Linked DNA regions of Homo sapiens: region 1 is linked to region 2. The links are contacts of gene promoters, found by promoter capture Hi-C in human tissues and cell types (Jung and others, 2019). All regions are on one chromosome and are shown on one strand. The core of a region is centred on a gene start or on the middle of the fragment in contact, and the rest is flanking DNA. Distances in the headings are between cores, read along the strand shown.

Region 1 (4,699 bases), core at 410-2,909, 150 kb after region 2:
CAAGTCCGTCTTGCTTCTAACCTCCAAGCTGTCCTTGTTCATTCCTGGGCAAAGTCTGAAATAACTTTGTGGGGAACTTAGTTTTTTTGTTTTCTGTTTTTTTGAGACAGAGTCTCACTCTGTTACCCAGGCTGGAGTGCGGTGGCATGATATTGGCTTACTGCAACCTCTGCCTTCTGGGTTCAAGAGATTCTCATGCCTCAGCCTCCCAAGTAGCTGGGATTACAGGTGCCCACCACCATGCCCGGCTAATTTTTGTATTTTTAGTAGAGACAGGGCTTTGCCACGTTGGCAAGGCTGGTCTCAAAATCCTGACCTCAGGTGATATGCCTGCCTTGGCCTCCCAAAGTGCTGGTGAGAGGTGGAGCCAGCTGGACTTCCTGGGCCAAATGGGGACTTAAAGAACTTTTCTATCTTACAAGAGGATTGTAAAATGCACCAATCAGTGCTCTGTAAAAAAACACCAATCAGCATTCTGTAGCTAGCAAGGGGATTGTAAAATGCCCCATCAGTGCTTTGTAAAATGCACCAATCAGCAGGATCCTCAAAGTAGCCAATCACAGGGAGGATTGAAAAAAGGGTTTCTGATAGGATAGAAATGGAACATAGGAGGGGACAAATAAGGGAATAAAAGCTGGCCACACCCAGCCAGCAGCAGCAAGCTGCTCGGATCCCCTTCCATGCTGTGGAGGCTTTGTTCTTTTGCTCTTCAAAATAAGCCTTGCTAGTGCTCATTCTTTGGGTTGGTGTCACCTTTAAGAGCTGTAACACTCACCGCAAAGGTCTGCAGCTTCATTCTTGAAGTCAGCAAGGCCATGAACCCACAGTCAACCAACTCTGGACATATTTTGGGGGCTCATCCAGGATAGCATCATGCAGTGAGTACCATTTCACTTGCTATTCTGTCCTATTTTTCCTTAGAATTCGGGGGCTAAACACCAAGCACTTGTCAGCCAGTTAGAAGGAACTAGTGTGGCCCCCAGAATAAGACACGGGTGTCAGGCTTTCTAGGAAAGGGCTCTCTAAAAACCCCCCAACTCTTTGGAGTTAGGAGCATTGGTTTGCCTGGAAACAGCTTCTGCTTCTCCTGTACTTCCGGGCTGAGCTAAGGGTCAACAGAGAGGAAAGCCATTCACTCTGGGGTCCTAACAAAAGTTGGTTGACCTTGCAGCCATGAGCAGACTCTCAAAGTTACATCACCCAAGTGAGACTTGTCCATCTATCCTATCTATCCTGATCCTTGCCTCCTGGGTCCTAATGCCTGTCAGACAAACTTCCTCCTGCCTCTGTTCTCCAAGGGTAATCCTGCTTCTAAAAACCACTCCCTGTCCCTGGTGCTTTTCAAGTTTCTCCTATAAGAATTATTTTTGTATAAATTTCGGGACTCTGTTCCCTTTTTGAGGCACCCAGGCTCACCAATCAGAAAGACATAATTATTGCCCGAAGCCCTATCTCGGAGGGACTATCTGGAATTTTAGGATCCCTCTACAGACGAGTAGGCCTAACAAAGGCTATTCCCAAAGCTAAGATATGCAGAGCCTCAGAAATTATAGATTCCAAAATTGGGAGGGGGGATATCCTTCCTATTCATATGATGAGAAGTGAGGACAAAAGGCATCACTCTTACAACCCTGGCGATCCCTTCCCTCCTTCAAGTATGGCCCTCCACTCCATTTTGAGGCATATCTTCTCTATAGGACAAGGGTAAGGTCACAATACCAACAGAAGAAAATGCTTAGGACTCTTAACTAACAGGTTTTCGAGAATGTGTAAGGGCCACTGAATCCGATTTTTCTCGGTCCTCTTTGTGGTCTAAGAGGAAAGGCAAGGGTGCAGGTTTTCGAGAATGCATTGGTAAGGGCCACTAAATCTGACCTTCCTCAGTCCTCTTTGTCGTCTAGGAGGAAAACTAGTGTTTCTGCTGCTGCTTCAGTGAGCACAACTATTCTGAACAGCAGGGTCCAGGGACCGTTGCAAGTTTTTGGTCAGGGATAAAAAAATGAACCAAAATCATGGGCAGTTTTTTCTTTTAGATGGGAAACACTCAGGCATCAAACAGGCTCACACTTGAAATGCATCCTAAGCCATTGGGATGAATTTGACCTGCAAGCCCTGAAAAAGAAGAGGCTTATTTTTTTCTGCACTGTGGCCTGGTCCCAATATTCTCTCTCTGATAGGGAAAAATGGCCACCTGTGGAAAGTATAAATTACAGTATTATCCTGCAGCTTGACTTTTTCTGTAAGATGGAAGGCAAATGGAGTGAAATACCTTATGTCCAAGCTTTCTTTTCACTGAAGGACAATCCACAACTATGCAAAGCTTGCAACCTACATTCCACAGGAGGACCTCTCAGCTTACCCCCATATCCTAGCCTCCCTACAGCTCCTCTTCCTATTAATGATGAGCCTCCTCTAATCTCCCCCACCCAGAAGGAAACAAGCAAAGAAATCTCCAAGGGGCCACAAAAACCTCTGGGCTATTGGTTATGTTCTTTTCAAGCTGTAGGGGGAGGGGAATTTGGCCCAACCTGGGTACATGTCCCCTTCTCCCTCTCTGATTTAAAGCAGATCAAGGTAGATCTGGGGAAGTTTTCAGATGATCCTGATAGGTATATAGATGTCCTACAGGGTCTAGGGCAAAACTTCGACCTCACTTGGAGAGATGTCATGCTATTGTTAGATCAAACCCTGGCCTTTAATGAAAAGAATGCAGGTTTAGCTGCAGCCTGAGAGTTTGGAGATACTTGGTATCTTAGTCAAGTAAATGATAGAATGACAGCCAAAGAAAGGGACAAATTCCCTACCAGTCAGCAAGCCATCACCAGTATTGATCCCCACTGGGACCTTGACTCAGATCATGGGAACTGGAGTCGCAAACATCTGTTAACCTGTGTTCTAGAATGACGAAGAGAATTAGGAAAAAGCCCATGAATTATTCAATGATGTCCACCATAACTCAGGGAAAGGAAGAAAATCCATCCACCTTCCTCGAGTGGCTATGGGAGGCCTTAAGAAAATATACTCCCCTGTCCTCTGACTCCTTTGAGGGTCAATTAATCCAAAAGGATAAGTTTATTATGCAACCAGCTGCAGATATCACGAGAAAGCTCCAAAAGTGAGCCCTGGGCCCTGAACAAAATCTGGAGGCATTATTAAAGCTGGCAACCTTGGTGTTCTATCACAGGGACCAAGAGGAACAGGCTGAGAAGGAAAAGCGAGATCAGAGAAAGGCCACAGCCTAACTCATGGCCCTCACATGAACAAACCTTGGTGGTTCAGAGAGGAGAGAAAATGGAGAAGGCCAATAACCTGGTAGGGCTTGTTATCAGTGTGGTTTGCAAGAACACTTCAAAAAAGATTGTCCAATGAGAAACAAGCCACCCTCTCGCCCATGTCCACTATGCCAAGGCAATCACTGGAAGATGTCCTGGAGGACAAAGGTTCTCTAGGCCAGAACCCCCAACCAGATGATCCAACAACAGGACTGAGGATGCCCAAGGCAAGTGCCAGCTCATGTCATCACCTTCTCTGAGACTCGGGTAACTTTAACCATTGAGGGCCAGTGAATTGATTTCCTCCTGGACACTGACACTGCCTTCTCAGTGTTACTCTCCTGCCCCGGACCACTGTCCTCAAAGTCCATTACCATCCGAGGAATCCTGGGACAGCCTGTAACCAGGTATTTCTCCCACCTCCTCAGTTGTAATTCAGAGACTTTGCTCTTTTCACATGCCTTTCTTGTTATGCCTGAAAGTCCCACACTCTTATTAGGGAAGGACGTGTTAGCCAAAGCTGGAGCTATTACTGATATGATATGAATATGGGGGACAAGTTACCCATTTGTTGTCTCCTACTTGAGGAGGGAATCAACTCTGAAGTCTGGGCATTGGAAGGACAATTCAGAAGGGCAAAAAATGCCCAGCCAGTTCGAATCAGGCTAAAAGACCCCACCACTTTTCCTTATCAAAGGCAATATCCCTTAAGGCCCAAAGCTCATAAAGGTTTACAGTATATTGTTAGACATTTAAAAGCTCAAGGCTTAGTAAGAAAATGCAATAGGCCCTGCAACACTCCAATTCTAGGAGTACAAAAAGCAAATGTTCAGTGGAGACTAGTGCAAGATCTTAGTCTCATCAATGAGGCAGTAATTTCTCTATATCCAGTTGTAGCCAACTCCTATACCCTGCTCTCTCAAATACCAGAGGAAGCAGAATGGTTCACTATTCTGGACCTCAAGGATACCTTCTTCTGCATTCTCCTGCACTCTGACTCCCAGTTTCTCTTTGCCTTTGAGGATCCCACAGACCACACATCCCAATTTACGTGGACAGTCTTGCCTCAAGGGTTTAGGGATAGCCCTCATCTGTTTGGTCAGGCACTGGCCCAAGATGTAGGCCACTTCCCAAGTCCAGGAACTCTGGTCCTTCAGAATGTGGATGATTTATATTTTTTATTATTACTATACTTTAAGTTCTAGGGTACATGTGCACAACATGCAGGTTTGTTACATAGGTTACATGTGCCATGTTGGTTTGCTGCAACCATCAACTCGTCATTTACATTAGGTATTTCTCCTAATGCTATCCCTCCCCCTGCCCCCCACCCCATGACAGGCCCCCGTGTGTGATGTTCCCCACCGTGTGTCCAAGTGTTCTCATTGTTCAATTCCCAACCATGAGTAAGAACATGCAGTGTTTGG
Region 2 (4,552 bases), core at 1,528-4,027:
TCTACATGGTTCACTCAGCCCAGGCAAGCTCAGCCATCCATAATTCCCCATAGGGCACTATTTGGGACAGGACAACTCTTTGTTGTGCAAGATAGCACTATGAACTGAATAAAGTCCGCAGTAGTGCTCCTCAGTCATCGTGACAACCAAGCCTCCCTGACACATTTCCAAATGTCTCCTGGGTGGCGGGGCAGTGCAGTACTGCTCAGTAGAGGAGCAAAGGACTCCTGAGTTTACATTTCCACCCCTGATAGTATCCCTGCACTCCAGACCCCTGCACCCAAGGAAATTTCTCAAAGGCACCTTGTGTCCTGTCCCAGAGACATCTTTTTTTTTTTTTTTTTTTTGACATAGTTTTGCTGTCATTCAGGCTGGAGTGCAGTGGTACGATCTCAGTTCATTGCAATCTCTGACTCCCAGACTCAAGCGATTCTCAGCTTCCCAAGTAGCTGGGATTACAGGCATGTGGCACCACACCCAGCTAATTTTTGTATTTATAGTAGAGACAGTTTCACCGTGTTGGCCAGGTTGGTCTCAAACTCCAGACCTCAAGCGATCTGCCTACCTTGGCCTTTCAAAGTGCTGGGATTACAGGCATCAGCCACCACACCTGGCCTCCAGAGACATCTTAAACTCAACTTTTCAAACCTGATCTCATCATTTTAATCTACTCTGACTAGTAAATGACGCTACCACTTCCCATTCTCAAACTGAGCCTAGGTGTTTTCCTAAATCCTCCTCTGAACTCTTTTACCCAGCTAGTGTTCCAGCACACAACCAAAGGTGAAATTCTCTAGCCCATCATATTTTCTAGATACTTCAGGTTACAGCCACCCCAACCTAGCCCCTAATCCAGTCAGAGAGTGGGTTCTAATGCAAAGCTGATGAGATCAAGGTTAGTTCGCTGCTGCTCTAATCTTCAAAGCTTTGTCTACGGAACCATAGTAGAGGTAGTCTGCCTGAGCAGTGGAAGACCATGAGTTTGAGGTAAGATGAAGGAGAACTTAACTGTGTTTCTGCACCTTAGGTGCATGACTTTTAAGCAGGCTCTGAGCAGATAGAGGGCCAAGGGCCCCTCCCTGTGGCGTCTTTTCTCTCTGAGGCCTCCATCAAAGCCCTCGGGCTCTGTCATAATTGTTGACTTTATCTGTCTGCCTCCCTCAGTAAACTTGGGAGCAGGGGCTGTGTCCTCCTTTCTGGGCCCTCAGCCCAGTGCCTGGCACATGGCAGGCACCCTTTCATGAGTGAATGTTTGTGGAATGAAGTACTGAGTTGGAAATCACTCTGCAAGCTGGGTAGAGCTGGACCACTTTCCCTTACTCATAATACCATCTGGCATTTGCAACAGTAAACACTAACAGCCTCACTTTAATTCAGGACCTTGGGTGGAGGCTCCAAAGAGTGGAATGAGCACTAGAATGGGGAGTCTGAACATCTGAGTCCTTGTCGTGGCTCTGTTAACTAACAAAACCTATCACCTTGGGTATGGTACTTTCTTCAACTGAGGAGATGGAGAGTCAGCTGGGACAAGGGTTCTATAGAGGGGCTTAGAGCGGCTTAAAGGGAGTCCTTGAGCAGTCTGAAATTGTTGCCAAACTCAGTCTATTTGCATTCTGTGGAGGGGACACCACAGATTCTTAAATAGTCAAGAACTGCTAACCTGGATAAGCTTCTGAATTACTGCAGTTTACATACTGACGCATGTACTTTGAGGGAAAAGAGGTACAGGGGAGCAGCAGAGATGGCTGGCACTCATCCCACATACCCACTGCCATCCCAGGCCCATCTGAGAGGGACTTTGTCAAGGGAGGCTTGGCATGACTAGGCTGCTGACTCAGCCACTTCCTAAACTTTGGTGCCACAAGCCAGGGAGCAAAAGGCAGGGTCTAAGGCAGAGGACACACATACAGAATGCTCCTAAAGGGACAGAGGCACGGGATTGGAAAGAAAAACTGCTGGAAAGTGAACCAGACAGGGTCTTAGGGAGAGAAGGATCCTTACAGACAAGGGAGCTATCAAGATCCACAAGTCTGGCACAGGCAAGGGGAACAGCAGGGGTTCTGGAGATGGAGGCCTAGACTGGAAGGAAAGGAGAAGGAGCTGGCACTTCCTGAGCACGTACTAAGTGCTGAGTACTCTTGTGATCATCATAATCCTGCAAGGGAGGTTTATCAGTCCCAAGCAAGGGAGTTAAATACAAGTTCTGCTGTTTCTAAGTGTCCTCTGGCCCCCCTTTCTCTGCTCTGCACGGTCTGCCCCGATAATTCAGACAGCCTTAGCATTTCCTTTGGAAAGGTCAATGACAAGAGGCTGGACTATGAATCTGCAGCTGGCAAAGGAGAGAGAAAGCTTCATTCAAACAGTTTGCAACCGTCCTGGGCACCGGCCACGTGCCAGCCACGGGGCTAGGTTCCGGGAGGCACACGACTAGATCCCTGCCCTTCGCAACAGCCACTACCTGCTGCCCCCACACCCCGAGGGGAACCAGCTGGGATCTGGGCAGCCAGGGCGCTTAAGGTGCGGGGCCGGCGCCAGGCTGGAAGTGGGAAGCCAGGACTATGGCTGGGCTCAGAGGAGAGTGAGGCAGGATCGGTATGCTTCCCACCCTCCTTCCCAGCTTACCAGGCGCAAGTCCCCCGGTCCGTGCACCACCAGGGAAAGGTTGTTGGGCTTGGCCGCCGCCGCCATGGAGCTCTTTTGGCTCTGGAGTGCGGCCTGGAAGGCGCGGGACGTTTGGTCGCTCTGGTGGCGCTACCCAGCCGAGGGTCCAGGGCACTGGATGGAAGGTGGGGCCTGGGAGAAGCGCCGCACGCAGGGGCGGGACTAGGCTTCCTCCTTTGTGCCAGCCTGGGCGGCGCTAGCGTGGAGGGGCGGGGCTTCCCAGCCTCCTCCAGACCCGGAGGCGGGGCGGGGCTTCGGGAGGGGGCTGGGAGCGAGAAGCCCGGGTGCTGGCTCCATCTGCAGCGCGCTGTTTTTTTTGTTTGTTTGTTTGTTTGTCGCCGAGGCTGGAGTACAGTGGTGCGATCCCGGCTCACTGCAAGCTCTGCCTCCCGGGTTCAAGCCATTCTCCTGCCTCAGCCTCCCGAATAGCTGGGACTACAGGCGCCCACCACCACGTATTTTTGTTTAGTAGAGACGGGGTTTCACCGTGTTAGCCAGGATGGTCTCGATATCCTGACCTCGTGATCCACCCGCCTCCGCCTCCCAAAGTGCTGGGATTACAGGCGTGAGCCACCGCGCCGGCCCTGCAGCGCGCTGTTTTTGCCGCCTCACATGCAAGCACACACGGCTGCCTTGAAAACCGCCTGCAGAGGCAGTAGGCACCAGACCAGCGCTCTCAAACGTTAGCTGCAGAAGAATTGGGGTGGGGAATGTGAGGCGCTGTTGAGAATGCACATTCTCAGGACCAGCACAGAGATTCTGATACAGTAGGTCTAGGTCTGAGGTGCTGCCTGAGGGTCCATATTCCTAGCAACGAGAATGCTGAGGCTGTGGGTGGAGCACGGTGTGCACTTTGCGAGACAGGTGCTACCATGACGCAGCGTCCACGTCGGCCCTTTGTCTCCAGCCCCCAGGAAAGGGCCTGGCACGAGTAGGAGTAAATGAATTCGTGCATCATTACATGGGCCTGGTGCTTAAGTATAAAAAAGACATGAGGCCGGGCGCAGTGGCTCTTGCCTGTAATCCCAGCACTTTGGGAAGCCGAGGCAGGTGGATCACCTGAGGTCAGGAGTTCGAGACCAGCCTGACCAATATGGTGAAAACCCCGTCTCTACTAAAAATACAAAAATTAGCCGGGCATGGTGGCATGCGCCTTAATCTCAGCTACTCGGGAGGCTGAGACAGGAGAATAGCTTGAACCTGGGAAGCAGAGGTTGCAGTGAGCTGAGATCATGCCATTCAACACCAGCCTGGGCAACAAGAGTGAAAATCTGTCTTTAAAAAAAAAAAAGCCATGAAATGGAATTTGTGAACCTCTTTCTCTCAACTGGATCTGCTGCTTCTATTCAAAGCAGAGTTTCTGCCCAAACTCTTCCTTCAAGCCTCTCAGCCCTCTGAGAAACAGTGAGGTTTTACTCTCTGAGGAGAGAGGCGCTTCTAGATAGGCCTAAGTCTATAAGGCCCCTCCCTCCTTTGAGGATAATGCTCAGGATTTCATTCCCTTACAGTCCCCCCTCCCCAATATGTAACCGCCCAATGGATTCACCTTGCCTGCTGCCTAGACAAAACTAATTTATCAAGACAGGGGAACTGCAATAGGGAAAGAGTTCATGCAGAACCAGCTATGCAGGAGACTGGAATTTCATTATTGCTCAAATCCGGCTCCCCAAGCATTCGAGCATACGGGGACTCAGAGTTTTTAAGGATAGTTTGATGGGTGGGGAAAGGCCAGTGAGTCAGGAGTGCTGATTGTTTGGGTCAGAGATGAAATCATAGGGGATCTAAGCTGTCTTCTTGGACTGAGTCAGTTTCTGGGCGAGGGCCACAAGGTCAGATAAGTGAGTTTATCAATCTGGTTGGTGCTACGCCTTGAGGGACCGGTGCCAGTATA

What was found. Contacts are between HindIII fragments. The study calls those that stand out against the background at their distance.
Region 1: a contact is called between a fragment that was not itself captured here and the fragment with the promoter of SORD in region 2, in 1 of the 25 tissues and cell types used here (lymphoblastoid cells).

The regions. Positions count from the first base shown.
Region 1 is chr15:44,872,047-44,876,745 of GRCh38, reverse strand. It overlaps the pseudogene SORD2P. Among named protein-coding and RNA genes, the nearest start is that of TERB2, 82 kb to the left of the region's middle. The HindIII fragment of the contact is 5,830 bases long and covers 1-4,574 here.
Region 2 is chr15:45,021,420-45,025,971 of GRCh38, reverse strand. SORD (sorbitol dehydrogenase) reads right to left here and starts at 2,777. Exons shown (of 9, transcript NM_003104.6): 1 at 2,623-2,777. The coding sequence starts at 2,688. RefSeq lists silencers at 1-264, 2,828-2,997 and an enhancer at 1,408-2,058. The HindIII fragment of the contact is 3,784 bases long and covers 2,010-4,552 here.